Regions from separate parts of the Homo sapiens genome. Here all the other regions are linked to region 2. The links are contacts of gene promoters, found by promoter capture Hi-C in blood cells and fetal thymus (Javierre and others, 2016). All regions are on one chromosome and are shown on one strand. The core of a region is centred on a gene start or on the middle of the fragment in contact, and the rest is flanking DNA. Distances in the headings are between cores, read along the strand shown. Region 1 holds the start of SKIC8 (SKI8 subunit of superkiller complex). Region 2 holds the start of MORF4L1 (mortality factor 4 like 1). Region 3 holds the start of TBC1D2B (TBC1 domain family member 2B).

The links. Contacts are between HindIII fragments. The CHiCAGO score rates a contact against its expected background, and 5 or more counts as called.
Region 1: the fragment with the promoter of SKIC8 here is called in contact with a fragment that was not itself captured in region 2 in 5 of 17 cell types (fetal thymus, non-activated CD4 T cells, naive CD8 T cells and 2 more); the score reaches 12.3 in fetal thymus.
Region 3: the fragment with the promoter of TBC1D2B here is called in contact with a fragment that was not itself captured in region 2 in 1 of 17 cell types (activated CD4 T cells); the score reaches 5.3 in activated CD4 T cells.

The regions. Positions count from the first base shown.
Region 1 is chr15:78,297,519-78,301,517 of GRCh38, reverse strand. SKIC8 (SKI8 subunit of superkiller complex) reads left to right here and starts at 1,909. Exons shown (of 11, transcript NM_025234.3): 1 at 1,909-1,956. RefSeq lists enhancers at 1,512-1,601, 777-1,743, 1,842-2,191, 1,744-2,711. The HindIII fragment of the contact is 6,178 bases long and covers 1-2,646 here.
Region 2 is chr15:78,869,558-78,873,334 of GRCh38, reverse strand. It overlaps MORF4L1 (mortality factor 4 like 1), which reads right to left and starts at 445. Exons shown (of 12, transcript NM_006791.4): 1 at 278-445. The coding sequence starts at 317. RefSeq lists silencers at 1-3, 414-673. The HindIII fragment of the contact is 1,335 bases long and covers 940-2,274 here.
Region 3 is chr15:78,076,080-78,080,133 of GRCh38, reverse strand. It overlaps TBC1D2B (TBC1 domain family member 2B), which reads left to right and starts at 2,423. Exons shown (of 13, transcript NM_144572.2): 1 at 2,423-2,841. The coding sequence starts at 2,482. RefSeq lists silencers at 2,138-2,187, 2,338-2,547, 2,748-2,947. The HindIII fragment of the contact is 13,244 bases long and covers 1-4,054 here.

The DNA of each region.
Region 1 (3,999 bases), core at 660-3,159, 570 kb after region 2:
GGGAAGTCATGTGTGCAGCAGAAGAGCTGCAGGATGTCTTCTCTTTTGTGTTAATGTGAGATTACTGAGGACAAGAGAATAGGTCCTGGGAGATGTGGGTGTATTTGCCAATTTCTCACCACACATAGCCTCCTCAAAAAGCCCCCAAAGATGGCCAGGTGCAGTGGCTCATGCCTGTAATCCCAGCAACTTGGGAGGCAGAGGTGGGTGGAGCACCTGAGGTCAGGAGTTTGAGACCAGCCTGGCCAACATGGTGAAACCCCGTCTCTACTAAAAAAAAAAATACAAAAAAAAATTAGCCGGGTGTGGTGGTGGGTGCCTGTAGTCCCAGCTACTGGGGAGGCTGAGGCAGGAGAATCACTTGAACCCAGGAGGCAGAAGTTGTAGTGAGCCGAGATTGCGCCACTGCACTCCAGCCTGGGTGACACAGCAAGACTCAGTCTCAAAAGAAAAAAAAGCCCCCAAAGATGAACTTCACCTAGTTGTAAGTGGTCTAATAGTCCTCCGTCTCTCTCTCTATATATATATTTGAACTTCAAAACTAGTTTTTTCGAAAAATATTTTTTAGAGCCAGGGTCTCACTCTGTCACCCAGGCTACAGTGCAGTGGCCCAATCATAGCTCACTGCAGCCTCAAACTCCTGGGCTCAAGTGATCCTCACTTCTGCCTCCTGAGCAGCTGGGTCTACACGTGCACACCACTGCGTCTGTAACTTTAAAATTTTTTGTAGAGATTGGGTCTCGCCATGTTGCCCATACTGGTCTTGAAATCACGGCCAGAAGCAATCCTCCCCCCTTGGCCTCCCAAAGTGCTGGGATTACAGGAGTGAGCCACCACATCTGAGCCACAGGGCGGCCTCCATAATGGGGCATGAGCCTCTTCCCATCTTTTTTTGTTGTTGTTATTCGAGACAGTCTCACTCTGTTGCCCAGGCTGGAGTGCAGTGGTGTGATCTGTGCTCACTGCAACTTCTGCCTCCAGGGTTCAAGCGATTCTCCTGCCTCAGCCTCCCAAGTAGCTGGGATTACGGGCACATGCCACCACACCCGGCTAATTTTGTTTTTGTTTCTGTTTTTTTTTTTTTTACTTGAGACGGGGTTTCACCATATTGGCCAGGTTGATTTCAAAACTCCTAACCTCAAGTGATCCACCCACTCCGACTCCCAAAATGCTGGGATTACAGGCATGAGCCACCACACCCAGCCCCATCTCTTTTTTTTTTTTTGAGACGGGGTCTAGTTCTGTTCCCCAGGCTGGAGTGCAGTGGCGTCATCACGGCTCAATGTAGCCTCAACCTCCAGGGCTTAAGCGATCCTCCTGCCTCAGCCTCCCAAGTAACTGGAACTACAGGCATGTGCTAATTGTTTTTATTTTTAGTAGACACGAGGTCTCTCGCTATGTTGCCCAGGCTGGTCTGGAAACCCAGAGCTCAAGCAAGCCTCTCACCTCGGCTCCCAAAGTCCTGGGATTACAGACGTGAGCTACTCTGCCTGGCCCTCAAAAAAAAAAAAAAAAAAAGTCAGTTGACAACCTATTAAACTGATATCTGTCACGTTAATGGGTCATGACTAGCAGTTTGAAAGACAAAGCTCGATTTCACTGAATTTATTTCAGCAACAGAAGTTATTAGCTTTAGTCCAATCTCAAAAGTACAAAATGAAATTGCAACACAAACCTCTAAACCTGCAGTTGCCGGAAGCTAAACGTCTGCGCTTCCGGAAGCAAATTTCCAACTACCACTCCTCTGGAAGCAGGACCTGGCTTCCTCCCTCCTCTCTCCGCCCACCCTCGTCGGCGTCTGCCCCGCGCCCGCCATAGCGACGGCAACGGGCGCTGCGGAGTGCTCCGAGCCGTGAGGGCGGGGCCGGCGCGATGCCCCGCCCCTTCGATAGCTCATCTTTGCGCGTCGCAGTCGCGCGGAGCCCGGCTTCCGACGTGCAGCCTGGCAGTGCAGTGGTGAGTTGGAGCGCAGGGCCGTTGGGGATTGGGGTCATTAGGGCCGTTGACAGTCCAGGCCAGAGGGCGAGTGAGCGAGGTTGGGCCCGAGGCTGCCTGTAAGCAGGTCCGTTCAGGGATGCTCCAGGCCCTGGGGCCTGAGGGTGGCTTCCATGGCTCCATTTGCCCTGGCTGTTCCTCGGTGTACGGGGCCTGAGGGGAGTGGGGGAGGCCCGTGGGTGGCCTCCTTTTGCGTCCTGAGAATGTTCTGGGCAGTATCGAGATTAGGGCTGGTTTCTCTGCGGAGGAGATCATTTATCCGTAGCTGGGAGGGCTGTATTAACCGAAGTTTTCCAGTAGTGGGCCACGCTGTCTTAGGTAGCGTGCTGGACAGATACAGACATCACTGGACGGGTACAGACAGAGGCTGGGTTCGCTTTACGCCAAGTACCGTGCAATACTGTGGGCTGTTGACTTGCCTGAGTAGTTTCATAGAGGCATCTGTAGTGTTCCTTGGAAACACTGAGTCAGTGATGAATTCTGCCTAGGAAATTTAGGGAAAAGTTTCCCAAAGAGAGAAGATGGCAAGAGAGGGCTAAGGTCTAAAGTCTCTTAGCTCTGACCTTCATAAGACCCTGAAGTAAGAGGTAGTGTATCTTGGTAGCCTATACTATAGCTTGTATCCACCTTTTAGTGTCCCTTGGGGAAGCTTCCTTAACCGCTTCTAAGCCTCCCTTTTCTTACTAGAAAAGTGGAACTGATAATAAAAAAATAGTAGTTCCCCCCTTATCTGCGGGGTGTACGTTCCAGTGGATGTCTGAAATCTTGGATAGTGAAGGACCCTGACTGACTTACCGTGGTTTGACTTACAATTTTTCAACTTTACATAGGTTTATTGGGAAGTAACCCCATTGTAAGTTGAGGAGCATCTATACTGTGTTTTTTCTCATACAGATTACACATACATACCTGTGATTACTTAGTTTAATTCGTAAATTAGGCACAATAAGAGAATAACAACAATAATAATAAAATAGAATTATAACAGTGTAATAAAATGTATGTGAATGTGGTCTCTCTCAAAATATCTTACTGCACTCTACTCACCTATTTTTGGACTACGGTTGACCTCTGGAACTGTGGAAATCAAAACCTCAGCTAAAGAACTACTGTACCTAGTAAGCGGGGTTATGAGGTTTCAGTGAGCTAAATCTTTGTGTATTACTTAAAATAGGACCGGATTCATTGTACATCCTCAAATGTGCACTCATTGATAGAATCACACCCTTGTCTTTTGGAGCCCGGGTTTTTGGAAGCTGGCTTACCGCAAGCCTTCCTCCTTTTTTTGTTTCTATCCATTGCCAAATGTGAGGCCCAGAATGACAGGGAAGAGGACAAGCCTGTGCTTCAGCAGGCAGAAGGCTGTGCTGAAGCAGAGGTTGAATACCATTCCCATTAGCCAAACTGGCTTGAGCACTTTCCTGTCTTTCCTACCCTGGGCAGAAAGAACCCTGTTCATGGGTCACAAATGAATAAAACACTACCAACCTGTCTGTAATCCCAGCACTTTGGAAGGCCAAGACAAGAGGATCGTTTGAGGCCAGGAGTTTGATACCAGCCTGGGCAACATAATGAGAACTTGTCTTTACAAAACCAAAACAAAACACTACCAATTTGAGATCTTCATAGGCAAGGATTAGTTATAAATTGTTTGTTTGTTTGATTTCCTGTTATTGGAAAACCTTCGGCAGCTTTTTAGGCTGGCAGATTTAAAGAAAGTAACCTGAACCTGGATGCCTTAACTGTGTGGTCCCTTAAACTGCCAATGGGTAGAATTGCGAGGGCCGTGAACTTGGCTGAGAGGAAAAATTGCATCTTTATGTTTCCTAACCTCCAACTGAAATTTAGCATTTTCTTCCACTGTGAATGTAGGCAACAAATCACATTATTAGCAGTGTGACTTTGTTATGAATATAAATTATAGATATTTTCATATCATGATATTGTGTAAGCTCATTGCAACTTCGAAATTATGGTAGTTATTAAATTTGCTTCTAGATCACA
Region 2 (3,777 bases), core at 358-2,857:
CTCAGAACAATAACAAACACTTGACGAGGGTGTGCCACGCGCCAAACGCTCTCTCTCCCACTCTAACGCCTGCGCAGCACTCTCGCTTCACAAAGCGCTTTCTCACAATGACGCACCGGAATTGCCATCCGCAATGCGCTTTCCCCGCACAAAGCACTGACCGCCGCCTTCTCAGGGCGCAGCCCGCGCCGCCCCCGGCCCTCAAGCCTCAATCACCTCGAGCCCGCCTCTATCTCCTGCGCCGTTAGGTGCCTTTTTCCCAAAGGCGCACACTCACCCTCCTGGAATTTAGGCTTCGGGTCCTGCTTCGGCGCCATTTATAAGTGATTCGCCGCCTCCTCCTTCTCCCACCACCCCCGACTACCGCCCCCTACTCTCTACCCCACCCAACTCCGCGTCAGACGCGCCGTCAGGCACTGCCAGCTCTACATCCTGGGCCGGATTTGCCAGCGCCCGCAGACCTCACAGCACCGCGACCCGCGCAGCCGCTGCTCCAGCCAACGACAGCCCGCCGCGCACGCGCCCCTGCGCCCGCGCCGCCCCAGGGCACGCCGGGACTGGTAGTTCGGAGTCGGTGGAGGCGCCCCCCCCCCCCCCCCGGGTGGGGGAGGGGCCGGCTACCCTACCCCACCCCACCCCCGCTTCTCTCTCCATGCCCCCGGCTGCTGCGGGTTGGTAAAGCGGGGATTTGATTTCGTGGGAGGTTAAGGCGGAGCTGGCGATGGGGGAGAGTGGGGGTGGTGAGCCACCAGTGATAATAGAATGGGAAAGGCCCAGTTGCGACGTCCCTTGGGCAAATAAGCCCCCGTTGATGTTGAAGTAGTCGGAGAGAATAGGGCTGGCTCGGAAACCTACATTCAATAGCATTCCGCTAGTTTTTGCATAGAAAGGCTTTAGGATCAGCAAGAGGGTGGGAACTGGGGTCCGCTTCTGGAAGCTTCGTTGTTTAGCAACCCCACTGCGGAGCCTATTTGGTGGGATTGATAGCCATTTGTTGGCTCCTAGGTCTACCTCCTCTTCTCCAGCCCAGCCTTGCGGAAATGAGGATGATGACGTGGGAAACACTAGTCACGCTTTAGCTTTTTGAGATAATGGAGCTCTGCTTTCTGAAAAAGGCTAGTGTGAATATGTCAACGTCTGTATTCCGTACCTGCCCTGTTTGTGCTTCTTGTCACTCTAAACAAACGGATTTCTTCAATATTATACCTTTTTTTTTTTTTCTGAGATGGAGTGTCGCTCCGTTGCCCAGACTGGAGTGCAGTGGCGCGATCTCTGCTTACTGCAGCCTTCGCCTCCCAGGTTCAATCGATTCTCCTGCCTCAGCCTCCGGAGTAGCTGGGATTACAGGCATGTGCCACCACGCCCAGCTAATTTTTGTATTTTTAGTAGATACTGGGTTTCACCATGTTGGCCAGGCTGGTCTGGAACTCCTGACCTCGTGATCCGCCCGGTTTGGCCTTCCAAAGTTCTGGGATTACAGGCGTGAGCCACCGTGCCTGGCCTAAACAAACGGATTTATGTCGTTCCCTGTTCAAAAACAACTTTGTTGGCTAAGCTGCAAAATAGCACCATTTCCGTCAGTTTATTGTGAGAATTACATATACGGGCTTAGCGCGGTACCCAACAATGAATAAGTGCTCAATGAACTTTAGACGATAAATCTCAAAGTCCTTAGCCTGGTATTTAAATCCTTCCACAAACAGCCCTTAGCCTACCTGCATCCCCTATGTAAACCTTTATCCTCCTACGCAAACCTTTGTCTCCATGACTTTTCTTTTTTTTTTTTTTCTTTCTGAGACGGAGTTTCCCTCTTATTAACCAGGCTGTAGTGCAAAGGCGCGATCTCAGCTCACTGCAACCTCTGCCTCCCAGGTTCAAGCGATTCTCCTGCCTCAGCCTCCCGAGTAGCTGGGATTACAGGCATGTGACACCACACCGGGCTAATTTTTGTGTTTTTGTAGAGATGGGGTTTCTTCATGTTAGTCAGGCTGGTCTTGAACTCCCGACCTTAGGTGACCCGCTGGCCTCGGCCTCCCAGAGTGCTGGGATTACAGGCGTGAGCCACTGCGCCCAGCCTGTCTCCATGGCTTTTCTAAGCCCTCCCCTGCCCGGGTTCCACACCCCACCAATTCCGGGCCCCTCTCCATTTATCTGACTTCCATTTCTCCTTCAGTCTTTTTAACACAACCCCTTCTCTGACAACAGAAACCCACAAAAACCTTCCTTATTCCAGTTGAATATACACCATCTTGTCACGACTACTTCTCGCAAGCTTGTCCAACCTGTCTTATTTTGTTGTTGTTTTGTTTTGTTTTGTTTAGGCTTTTAGCACCCTGAAGCCATGGTTTTTAGTTTCAGTCTCTAGTGATAAGTGGAAAAGGGGGATGAGGAAGGGGCTTTACTGGCCCAACCAGAAACAGAAACTAAGAACCCATGACTGTATTCACTCCCTTGGACACCATTGCTAAATTGTAAAAAGGGACAAGGGCTTCTTTGGACCCCACCCCACCAAAACTGTCCTGTACACTTTTAAATTTTTTATTGAATATAAAATACGTACTTTTTTTAAATTATTTTTTTGAGACAGTCTCGCTCCGTAGCCAGGCTGGAGTGCAGTGGCACAGTCTCAGCTCACTGCAACCTCTGCCTCTTGGGTTCAAGCGATTCCCCTGCCTCAGCCTCCTGAGTTGCTGGGACTCGGTGTGCCATCACGCCCAGCTACTTTTTTGTATCTTAGTGGAGATGGGGTTTCACCATGTTGGCCAGGATGGTCTCGATCTCCTGACCTTATGATCCTCCTGCCTTGGCCTACCAAAGTGCTGGGATTACAGGCATGAGCCACTGCGCCCAGCCAATTTTTTGTTGTTGTTGTTGTTATGAGACCAAGTCTCACTCTGTCACCCAGGCTAGAGTGCAGTGGTGCAGTCTCAGCTCACTGCAGCCTCCACCTCCTAGATTGAAGCGATTCTTCTGCCTCAGCCTCCCAAGTAGCTGGGTTTACAGGCGCATACCACTATGGCCGGCTAATTTTTGTATATTTAGTAGGGATGGGGTTTCACCATGTTGGCCAGGCTGTTCTCGAACTCCTGACCTCAGGTGATCCACCCGCCTCGGCCTCTCAAAGTGCTGGGATTACAGACGTGAGCCACTGCGCCCAGCCTGCACATACTTTTTTAATCCAAACGTTTAAAAATACAAAAATGAAAATAGTGGGCCGGGCGCGGTGGCTCACGCCTGTAATCCCAGCACTTTGGGAAGCCAAGGCAGGCGGATCACGAGGTCAGGAGATCAAGACCATCCTGGCTAACACGGTGAAACTCCATCTCTACTAAAAATATAAAAAATTAGCTGGGCGTGGTGGTGGGCGCCTGTAGTCCCAGCTACTCAGGAGGCTGAGGCAGGAGCATGGCATGAACCCAAGAGGCGGAGCTTGCAGTAAGCCGAGATTACGCCACTGCACTCCAGCCTGGGCGACAGAGTGAGGCTCCATCTCAAAAAAAAAAAAAAAAAGAAAATAGTGAAAGTCTCTTTCCCACCTCCACCCCTCATCTGCCCAGTTCCCCCACTGTTATGAGTTGTTTGGGAATCCATGAGTTTTTTTATCCTAGAACCCTCTTTGTGTTATTTCTTCTTTTGTATTGAAGTTAACTTATTTGCCTTTATGTGTTAATTACACAGGTAATATTCAAATATTTGGGCTCATGATGCAACAATTGAGAAATATAAAATACAGGGCAAAACTTAAGGAACATGTTTATTCCCCGCTCCCCCCATTTA
Region 3 (4,054 bases), core at 1,174-3,673, 790 kb after region 2:
CCCTCCCCTGTCCTGTTGCCTCCCTGTACCATGGCAATACAGACCGGGTTCTCCCAGCTCTTCCCTTTCCCACAGTATTTCAAGGTCAGACCTCACCCTGACTGCCTACCCCACAAGCCAATTAGTCACAGCCCCTTTTACATACATGGTGAGGCCCAAATTGAACTTGGGACCCCTTGCTCCCGAGAGCAGCCCACTCCACTCCCGCAGCACCGCAGTGTCTGGCCTCCCTTGTCTGGGCCCGGTCTGACTGTTGGATTCCCCCTCTCCGAATCTGCTGACTGATGAGGAAGACATCGGTGTTAACTGCAAGATGATAATAATAACAGCTGATATGTGCTGAGTGCTTACTATGTGTGAGGCACCGTGCTAAGCACTTTCATATGCATTTCTCACGTAACCCTTTCAATAACAACAGCACGAGATAGCTACTTGTATTTATCAACCCTGTTTTATAAATGAAGAGACTGAGGCCCAGAGAGGTTAAATCACTTGCCCAAGGTCATGCCTCTGGTAAGTGGCAGAGCTAGGAGACACATCTGGTCAGTGTGAAGTCAGAGCCCAGTCCTTAACACTGTGCTGATTGTGCTCAAAGACAGGTGGAGAGGTCAGCCACACCTCTGATGGGCCCCAGGAAAGGAATGCTTGCGTGGTGCCACTTTAGGGCCTGCAGAGAGTCGGCAGGCTGGGTGAGGACCCAGAACCTGCCCTTCCTACCTGGGTGGCTCCAAACAGGCAGTCTAATTTGTGTCCCTGTCCAGCTCAGAAAGGTCAGTTTTCCACCTGGGTCTTTCAGTGTGTCTGTATAAAACATGCAAATCTATGAGGGTGAGATATTTGGTTTGGGCTTTCACAAATGTAGCTATGTAGCTATACACTTCCTTTTTCCTTTGAATAAAGTGAGCTCTTGTACTCACTATTCCCTCTCCCTGGAATGCTTCACCCACATTTCTGGTTGCCCCTGTCCCTCCCATCATCTGGGTTTGTGCTCCATGTCACAGGATCAGACCAGCCTCCTTGCCTGTCCTGGGGCAGCAGCCTGCTATCTGCCCCCCATCACTTCATCCTCTCACTTTGCTTTTTACTTATTTTTTATTCTTGTGGGAACATAGTAGGTGTATATATTTATGGGTTACATGAGATATTTTAATACAGGCATGCAATGCATAATAATCAAATCAGGGTAAGTAAGGTATCCATCACCTCAAGCATTTATCCTTTGTGTTACAAACAATCCTATTATACTTTTTTTTTTCTTTTTAGACAGAGTTTTGCTCTTGTTGCCCAGGCTGGAGTGCAATGGCGCAACCTCGGCTCACTGCAACCTCCACCTCCGGGGTTCAAGAGATTCTCTTGCTTCAGCCTCCCGAGTAGCTGGGATTACAGGCATGCACCACCACGCCCAGCTAATTTTGTATTTTTAGTAGAGACAGGGTTTCTTCATGTTGGTCAGGCTGGTCTCGAACTCCCGACCTCAGGTGATCCACCCACCTCGGCCTCCCAAACTGCTGGGATTACAGGCGTGAACCACCGCGTCTGTATTATACTCTTTTGGTTATTTTTAAACGTACAATTATATTATTTTTGACTGTAGTCACCCTGTTGTGCTAGCAAATACTTGGTCTTATTCATTCTTTCTCTTTGCTTTATTACAAAGCAATAGATTTGCCTTCTCAGGTTGTGAGTGTTCAAATAAGTTAGTCTATAAAGCACTGATAAATACTAGGTGCTATTTTAAGCGGTAATCATTTACATGTCATCACGGCATTTATACAACATAGCACACATTACTTTTATCTGCTTTCTTGTGTGTCACCTCCCTGCCTTACTAGAATATAACCTCCACGAGGGCAGGAGAATGATTGGTTTGTTCACTGCTGTATCCGCCAGGGCCTGGCATACAGAACCGTACCCGGCATTCAGAAGGCGCTCAATAAATATATGTTGAATTCAATAAATGAACTGAGGTCTGGAGAGGCAGGAAACGCTTTGGCTTTCATGAATTCTGCAAATATTTACTGAGCACCCACTCAGCACCAGGCAATAGGCTGTCTCATTTTTACAATATTAGCTTGAGACTCTGGCAGGAGGGAGATTTAAATATCAAGTTTTTAGAATAAGATACACAGTGTGAAATGCAGTTTTAAGCGGACACTCCGCTGGGTTTTGAGAGATGCACACTCCCATGTACCTACACTGCCATAAAGAAATAGACCATTGCTTCATCCGGCAGGGCGAGGACTTGGAGCCCAGGTGGCACGAAGGCAACTGACCCGCGGGGTGCTGGTCGCAGGACCCTGCCTCCGGGGGCTGAGGGGGCAACGGCCGGCGGGCGGGCGGGGGCGAGACTACAAGTCCCAGGGTGCTTTGCGCGCCCGCGGGCCGTGCGGAGCGAAGGGGCGGTGCGGAGGGGGTAGGGGGCGCAGCGGCCGCGGCGCGGAGGCGCAGGGCGCGGGCGCCTACGGTTGGCGCGCGGTAGCGATGCCGGGGGCCGGAGCCCGGGCGGAGGAGGGCGGCGGCGGCGGCGAGGGCGCGGCGCAGGGGGCGGCCGCGGAGCCCGGGGCGGGTCCGGCGCGGGAGCCAGCGCGGCTGTGTGGCTATCTGCAGAAGCTGTCGGGCAAGGGCCCCCTGCGTGGCTACCGCAGCCGCTGGTTCGTGTTCGACGCGCGCCGCTGCTACCTTTACTATTTCAAGAGTCCGCAGGACGCGCTGCCCCTCGGCCACTTGGACATCGCGGACGCCTGCTTCAGCTACCAGGGCCCCGACGAGGCGGCGGAGCCGGGCACGGAGCCGCCCGCGCACTTCCAGGTGCACAGCGCGGGAGCCGTCACGGTGCTCAAGGTGGGACCGCTCGCCCCAAAGCCGCCCGCGCGCTTCCGCCGGCGTCCCCTGCCTCCGCCACTGGCTTGCGCCATCCACCCTCCTTCCTCCAAGGCCTCCTCGCCCCTGCCCACGTCGGCCTGCCTTTCCCTGCTTCTCCACATCCCGCCCTCGTTCCTATCTCCTCCCCACTATCTGGGCTTAGGCCAGTCTCGCTGGGGCTACCAAGCCCCGTCTCCTTTCTCAGACACCTTGACCCATTATCTCCCTCTGCGCCTAACCTCGGGCCAGTCTCTGGTGTCTCCCGACCCCCACCATCCCGTGGATGTCCTGTGCAGCCTTCCCAGGCATCCGTGAGCGTAGGCTTCTACCCCTGGGGCCTCCTTTAGAACTTTGCCTATGGCCTTGGTACCTCAGTGAACCGCTCTGGGCTGCAGCGGCCTCCTCTGTAAAATGGGATAACAGTAGTATCTACCTCATGGGGTGTTGGGATTAAATGAATTATACTTTAAACTGCTCAGTAAATGTCAGTGCTTTTATTTATTTGTTTATTTATTCTTTTTGAGACAGGATCTTGTTCTGTTGTCCAGGCTGGAGTGCAGGGGTGCGATCTCGGCTCACTGCAGCCTCCATGCCTGGGCTCAAGAGATCCTCCCACCTCAGCCTCCCAAGTAGCTGGGACCACAGGTGCGGGCCACCACGCCTGGCTAATTAAATTTTTTTTTTTTTTTAAAGAAACGGGGGTCTCACTATGTTGCCCAGGCTAGTCTCGAACTCCTGGGCCGAAACCATCCTCCCCATCCAGCTTCCCAAAGTGCTGGGATGCCAGGCGTGAGCCAGAGTGCATTTAGCACTGTAGACAGAAAGAGTCAGATGGCAGGGCCCTTAGAGACAGTCCACTACATTTTCCTCCAGAGTGGACGGGGATGCTCCAGCTAAGGTCACACAGCCAGTAGGTGGCAGATCCTGTGTTCTTCCTCCTTGCTTTGTCCAGGATGGGTGGGAGGGGGTCTTTTCAGCCAGTTATGCCTTGCTCCTTTGAGGCTCCCTTAATCCTCCAGTGGACAGACAAAATGAGAGATACAGTGTAGAAGCAGGAGAGTAGAGTCAGGAGTCCTGGTGCTGAAAGGCCTCCCCTGTCCTTGGGAGTTCTGGGGGACTAGACTGTCACCTCCTAGGGGCCCACCTGCTTTGAGCATCTGGAGGGATCTGGGCCCAGGCCTGGAGCTGGGTA